Regions from separate parts of the Homo sapiens genome. Here region 1 is linked to region 2. Evidence: promoter capture Hi-C in 16 types of primary human blood cells and fetal thymus (Javierre and others, 2016). All regions are on one chromosome and are shown on one strand. Each heading gives the region's core, a stretch centred on a gene start or on the middle of the fragment in contact. The rest is flanking DNA. Distances are from core to core; before and after follow the strand shown.

Evidence for each region. Contacts are between HindIII fragments. The CHiCAGO score rates a contact against its expected background, and 5 or more counts as called.
Region 1: a fragment that was not itself captured here is called in contact with the fragment with the promoter of NEB in region 2 in 1 of 17 cell types (M1 macrophages); the score reaches 5.6 in M1 macrophages.

What each region holds. Positions count from the first base shown.
Region 1 is chr2:152,025,133-152,028,910 of GRCh38, reverse strand. All of the region lies in intron 2 of CACNB4 (calcium voltage-gated channel auxiliary subunit beta 4), which reads left to right. Among named protein-coding and RNA genes, the nearest start is that of CACNB4, 72 kb to the left of the region's middle. RefSeq lists an enhancer at 2,711-2,780. The HindIII fragment of the contact is 2,245 bases long and covers 1,339-3,583 here.
Region 2 is chr2:151,733,226-151,737,042 of GRCh38, reverse strand. It overlaps NEB (nebulin), which reads left to right and starts at 2,567. Exons shown (of 182, transcript NM_001164508.2): 1 at 2,567-2,645; 2 at 3,248-3,331. The HindIII fragment of the contact is 3,549 bases long and covers 1-3,182 here.

The DNA.
Region 1 (3,778 bases), core at 1,212-3,711, 290 kb before region 2:
TATGAAGCTTTCTTGGACAAATACTTTCTTTAGTTTTCCATCCCTAGCACTTGTACACAACAAAAATAGCTGGAGCATTTGTATATATTTATCATGTTTTGGCTAATACCCACTTGTGTGAGCTCCTTGTTGCTTATTAGATTTTAAACACTGTATGCAAGGATCTGCTCCTCCTTTCCTTGTGACTCTCCCAAATCTCACTGCAAGCTGTTCACCACGTGGTTATAAATGAAATGTTTTTGACCAACAGATTGCTCATTTGGTCTCAGCCTTGGTCAGATTCCAAGGAAAACAAATTAAAATAATACTCCCTTCTTCTTTCGCAGAAAGACAAATTTAAATGATATGGTTATATATAATCATTGTGATAACATGATTACATGATTATATCATTATCTAGAAATCATATAGGTTAAGTATTGAAAGGTGCAGTTATGGAGAGATTTGTCCACAGGCTACAGTAGAACTAGTTAGGCTTGTGCTGTTACACACGAAGGTATCAGTGGGTGTCGGGAGAATTCATGTTGACTCATTCGGGGCACATGTAAATCTGGGCCCTGATGAAGTACTTGTTCATGTTCCACTTCCATATTTTAGGTAATTTAAATTTTGTAGTGCAGCTTTTCCCAGTTGTGTCCTTTGCTGGTCTGGAGATGGCAGTAATCATGAACAAATCCACAACCCTTTGGTTCAGTATCCATCATCTGAATTCCTGGGGTTCCCAGTCCTAAATTGTTGCTTTGAGTTTAGAGGGGATTGTAGGTCATGCCCTCTTTGCTCTTCCCTCATCCCCTCATTTGATTAGGTTTCTGCTCAGGCGATCCTTGTCTTGTGATTGCCCTTGTAGAAGGGAGCAGGTGTCAACCTCTGACCTAAAATTTAGTTGTGATATTGAGGCTGAGGGTGCCACCTGTGCACTAAGAAGGTATAAAAAGATCTGTTACTCACAAATCGAAGCTCTCTGAGGAGAGCTGGGCAGGCTCTCAGGCAGGTTAGAAAATGGCTTGAGAGCCTCAAGGGCAACTGGCTTTGGCTTTTTTTTTTTTTTTTTTTTTTTTGAGACGGAGTCTCACTCTGTCGCCCGGGCTGGAGTGCAGTGGCAACAATCTCGACTCACTGCAACCTCCGCCTCCCGGGTTCAAGCGATTCTCCTGCCTCAGCCTCCTGAGTAGCTGGAATTATAGGCGTGCGCCACCAAGCCCAGGTAATTTTTGTATTTTTAGTAGAGACTGGGTTTCACCGTGTGGGTCAGGCTGGTCTCGATCTCCTGACCTCGTGATCCGCCCGCCTCGGCTTTGGCTTTTATGGTGGTCAGTGGTTTGGGCTGGGGCCAAAGCTTGTGTGGTTTGAGCTTCCCACTGGAGCCAAAGAGGTAGCACATGGCTTTCCTGTCACTTCCCTTGGTGTGAGTCAGGAGGGGAGGTGGCAGGGGAGGAGCTTGAAAACTCAGGGAGGCTTTCCTGACCATAACTTGTGAATACCTGATTTTATATTTAAAATCTATCTAATTACAGTTTCTTCTGCTAGATTGTAAGCTCTTTGATTTGTTCAGCATCCAATTTCCACAGCTGAGAACTGCCCCAGGCAGTCAGAGGCTCTCAGTAGATATTTGCTGAAACAATACAAAGGAGATGAAGGAGTGGCCAGAAAAATGGGAGGAGGTGCCTGAAAGCCAACAGAAGAAATGATTCTAAGAAAGGAGGAATGTGGCTGGGAGCCCTGGCTCACGCCTGTAATCTCAACACTTTGGGAGGCTGAGGTGGGCGGACCACCTGAGGCCAGGAGTTTGAGACCAGCCTGGCCAACGTGGACCCTGTCTCTACTAAAAATACGAAAATTAGCCGGGCATGGTGGCATGTGCCTGTAATCCCAGCTACTGAGGAGGCTGGGGTAGAAGAATCGCTTGAACCCAGGAGGTGGAGGTTGCAGTGAGCTGAGATTACACCACTGCACTCCAGCCTGGGTGACAGAGTGAAACTCCGTATCAAAAAAAAAAAAGAAAGATAATTGTGTCAAATGCTGTCAATGGGTCAAGTTAGATGAGCCCAAGATTCCCCAATGGACTTAACAATATGGATACCATTGGTGACCTCAGTAAGACCAGTTTTGGTCTGGAGTAGTGAGCAGAAAAGCCTTATTGGAATGGGTTCAAGAGAGAATGGAAAGATTGAAGTTAGAGTCAGTTAATATGGACAATTCTTCTAGGTACTATAGCAGTAAAAGGGAGTGGAGGCCGAGTGCAGTGGCTCATGGCTGTAATCTCAGCACTTTGGGAGGCCGAGGCAGGCAGATCACCTGAGGTCAGGAGTTCGAGCCCGGCCAACATGGAGAAACCTCATCTCTGCTAAAAGTACAAAAATTAGCTGCGCGTGGTGGCATGCACCTGTATTCCCAGCTATTCAGGGGGCTGAGGCATGAGAATCGCTTGAGCCCAGGAGGCAGAGGTTGCAGTGAGCAGAGATGGCACCACTGCACTCCAGCCTGGGTGACAGAGCGAGAACCTGTCTCAAAGAAGAAGAAAAAAAAAAAAAGGGACTAGAGAAGTGGAGCCCAGAGAGGGTTTTTATTAATATGATAGCATGTTTATATGTTGACGCTGATGGAAACAGTCCAGTGGAAAGGAAGACGCTGAAGATTCAGGAGGGAAGGAGGAAAATTGCTGGGGCCCTGTCCTGGAGTAAGATCCAGTGCTCGAGTGGAAGGGCCGGTCTGTAAGGGATTTGGTCAGTTTGTTCACAACAACGAGAAAAGGCAGAGTGTGTGAACCCACTGCAGGTAAGAGGGGAGATGTGGTTCACTTCTGGTAGCTCCTAGGAAGCTCTGTGGACATTCATGCCAAGTGACTTGTGGTGGCCTCGGCCCTGCGCCTCCAGAGGTGTCGGCTGCATCAGCACCTGCAGGGGGCGCCCTGTGCACGTCCTGTTCTCACATCCTCTTTACTAAACACGGAGATAGATGGAGCAACCCTCCCGCTGCAAACACAGCTCTTCACAGCTCTGACGTTTTTCTACTATACTGCAAACACATCTGTAATCACATTTAAAAATAAATCCACACAAGAAAAATTCACTGTTTCTTGTATAACAAGTGTAACTGTGACTTCTGAGACAACGCTGAACATTTTCTGAAATCTTGTCAAAAACCACACGGGGGCACTATTCCTTTAAAATACACAGTACGGTATGTCCAATTTTGATGACTGAAACAGTGGCATCTTTGAAGTTCAATTTCCTGAAGTTTATTTTCCTTTTAGAAGAGAGGCTGTTGTGTCACAATAACAAAATATTTTCTGTACTTCATAGATGATTTGAGATATTCCAAACTCCTAGATTTTTTATTTAATCTGGCCCCTGGGCAATCATTCTTTTAGTGTTACAGCCACTTCCTTTGCATTTAAGGCACAATGCATATTTGTCTTATTTCTGCTCTTTCTTATGCTTACAATAGAGGCTGTGAGCTAGCAGCGAGTCCAGTTTGTGCTCATATCTGGAATAAGGTTGTCTGAAGTAGACAGTTTGAGAGAAAATGTCGTTGTCTTTCTTGGTTCTCATTCCACCGTTCCCCAGCTCTCGCCTCTGAAGCTTGAGCTATTACACTTTTTATGACAGGAAAGAAAAAATTAAGTCTTTTGAACAATTTCCTGTTTTCAGGAAAGCTATCAAACTTAATTTACACATATGAAAGAAGAGGTTTCAGAGGTAGTGTAGGATTAGGAGAATAGAATTTGCTCACTGTCTAGCAATAGATAAGCTAGTATTTGCAAATAATTTAGCCAAAA
Region 2 (3,817 bases), core at 1,318-3,817:
CCTGCAGCAGGCCAGTTTAGCAGGGGCTTTGGGGCTTTCTTTTAGGAGGAATTTATCCCAAGAGATCTAAGCCAGGGTAATTTCATGTGAACTCACTCTTGCCCCACCCCCCACCCTAACTTTTTAGATGCACACTTCATTATGAATGGAGTTTGAGGTTCTGCTCATCTGTAGCACTTCTATTTACTATCATAGTGGTTTCAAAAGTAATGTATAAAGAGTGTCTTAGTCCATTTGGTCTGCTATAACAGAAATAATATAAGCTGGATGGCTTATAAACAGAAATTTACTTCTCATAGTTCTAGAGGCTGGATGTCTAAGATCAGGGTGCTGGCATGGTTGGGTTCTAGTGAGGACTTTCTTTCAGGTTGTGGCTGGCCATCATCCCCCTGTAACTTCACATGGCAGAGAGAGTGCCAGGCAGCTCTCTGGGGCCTCTTTCATAAGTGTACTAATCCCATTCGTGAGGGCTCCACCCTTATGACCCAATCACTTTCCACACATCGGGGGGTAGGACTTCAACATATAAATTTTGGGGGGACACATTCAGCTCAGATAGTAATGATTTTTCAGTCTAATAATCCCTAAGGATATTGAGATGTGTATACATAGGAACCCTCATTCTCTGTTAGTGAAACATAAAATAGTGTAAGGATTTTGACTGGCAACTTGACAATATCTATCAATTTTCAAAATGTGCATATATCTTCTGCCTCAGTATTTCTATTTCTAGAAATTTACCTTACAGATACATTTCATATAAGTATACAAAGGTAATGTACAGGGATGCTTACTGTGTGTTTTGTTTCGCATTGTTTTGCTTTATTTTGTAATAGCAAAAACCTCGAAACAACCTAGATGTCCATTAATAATGATTAAACTATTATACTCTATCCAATCAATAGAATTATTTGTGGAAATTAGAGTAGGATATGTTTATGTGATGTTTCATAAAAATGTCTATTGCATATTAAGTATATCGATTTATGTCAATATCTATATTGAAAATATCTGAAACTTAAAAATGACTAAGAAGGTCAATGCTCATTTTTTACTTTATATAATTTTGTACTCTATGTTTTTAAAGTATGGGCCTGTATTATTTTTTAATTCAACAACACATTTTAAAGCATGTAATGACTAGTAAGTCACAATTCTAGTTTGCAGCTACCAAGTGAGTGATCTCATATTACATAAATATCCTTTGGTCATAAGACCTGTGAGAACATACAAGATGAACAGGTATAATCAGTTAAGATGATAAAATTCTGTTAGATTTTATTTACTACCATGTGAATCATGGAGGGGGAAAAGGTACATGTATTTGAAATATGAGATTACTTTCTCAAACTCCTGGCCTCAGACAATCTGCCCGCCTCGGCCTCCCAAAGTGTTGGGATTACAGGCGTGAGCCACCACGCCCAGCGAGATTACTTTCTAATGTTTAACTTAAAAAAGAAAAAATATTACAATATGTTTAATCTCAAATCCATATCAAGATATAGGTGACTCACAGGGTTTTGCCTGAATACAGGAGCAACCCAGAGAAAGAGCAGTTCTCTGTCACATAAGAGCCTGTGATTTCTGTCGCTGTGTGTAAGGACAGACAGACAGACAGATAGAATTAGATTTTAAATTAGAAAAAATACTTCAGGAGCAAAGAAAGTGCAAGAAAGACATCAGGCAAGTTTTAAGAAAATGGTTAGATAATTTTTATGAAGGAAATGTCTTACGTTCGGATTTGCCAAATAGGGCATTATTTTCTCCTGATAAGTTACTGATTTCCATGTTATCTGCTCTTGCTGTTCAGAAATTGAGCCTGTTTGTGTCCGCATTCACACGTTGCTTCTGGGAGCCAGGAGTCATCTGAGTTAATAGAAAAATCACTAACTCGGTTACATATGAGAGAGGTTCTGTATTCCTAGCAGCTTGCCTTATCTAAGGAGGGAGAAGGTGCTAAATAGGATTTTGGTATACCCTCTTGGTTTAGTAACAGAAAAATGATGGGGTCTAATCTTTCTAATTACACCCTGTGGATATCTTATTTAGTGCCATTGTCAAATATTTTCACCTTTAACTTCACTCATCACATTTTTAAAAATTGCTTTTGTCAACTTGATGTTTACTGGGTCTTATTCCTCAGTTTCTTTCACACTAGCACCAGTAACTTACCTGTAGCTCACCTGGTGAACCTTACCAGAGTGAGTACATTTACCACCATGACTGGACAAATGACATGAAGAAAGCAGTCACGGAAGGGTTAAAGCCTCTCAAAGTCATGCTTATTTTCTACTAAATTCTTTTGCATGAATATGACATTGAATGGGGCCTCAGTAAATGGGAAATTCAACCTAAAATTGAACTGCACAGGCTGGAAGTTAGGTAAAATTTGATTCCATTTGAATTGTTCTAAGCAAGCAATTTGTTACCCTTTATCCTTTAGTGGAATTGATGAACAGGTGGTTTTCAGAAGATCACTTGGTAAATTTAGCTTCTGAAATTTGAGCAACTCAAGATCTGATTGGTTGCTCTTGCCACATGATAATTCGGAGCCCAGGCATCACGCTGGCTTTTGCCTGGGGTTCTCAGGAGGGGAGAGTTGGGAGAGGCTTTGCTGCTGAGGAAATTTATTTGGTAGATTGAAGGTAAGGCCAGTTTATGACTTTTTCTGTAATACTCTTTCAGGAGATGCTCCACAACTTCCCTCGAAGTATTTTTCAAAGGTTTGGGCCATAACTGAGGAAATTAGTGGTAGAAATATGGCTAGGAGAGTTTAACCCCATTGCCCTACTAAGGCCCTACTAATATCTGCTATGTACCGTGTGTGATTAGAGTCAAGTCCTTTGCTAACCAATTTATTGCTTGACTGAATTGGCTCTCTTGTCTAACATTTTTTTGCCTTTGATATTTTTCTCTAAATATATTAGTGTGAAAAAGAAGATACGCTGCTCTACGTTCCTATATTTATCCTGTTCTACTGGGCTTCATTTGCCTGAGGAGTGGCAGTTTCGCTAGCTTAACAAAACCAGCCACTGCAGGGTATTGGTTTACATGGCAAACATCTTTGGATGAAGGGACAGCTGTTCCAACTCATCATCCACTTCATATCAAGAGTCTTACTCTCTGGCGTCAAACTGTAGAGGCCTTGAGAGATCCTTTCGCTGTTTTCTGCATTAGAAGCTTAGGCTAAGGACTGACAATCCTATATGTACCTCAATCAATGCTTTACAACTTTGTTATTTTTCAGGTTTGAACGAGAGCTACAGAAACGAAAGAAAAAGTCTGTATAAGCCAATGGTGTTCGGGAAGAAAATAACCCCATTGCCTTGAGGTTTCTTTTTTTCTTTTAAAATTTATTGACAGATGTATTTTTATGGGTTCCAATTTGAAGCCTAAGATATATTGCAAACAGTGGATCAGGGCAGTATGGAAAACTAAGTCAGCCCTCTTAGAATTTTGGTGCTGGGGGATAAATTTCAGCTTCTTCTGAAACCCAAGCTGACCTTTCACTAAAATTTTTGCTGGAAAATGTCTTTTCTCTAAGTGTTTGGAAGTTTAAATTCTCTGTTCCCTGAGTCCAAACTCTCTCACTTCCTTACCTCAATTTCGTTTTACAATTTTAACTAAACTGATTATGTAGAAGTAGCAATTCCCAACACTGAAGGAATAAAGAGAAAGAAATTTGAAGCTTCTGCTGTTTATACTTGTATTTTAAATGTCTTCTCTCCTTTAGCCTGCAACAATATATGAATTTGTACAATAGTTTAGCTTCAAATTCTATTTTTATAATGTCATAAGATAATTTCTGTGCTGGGAA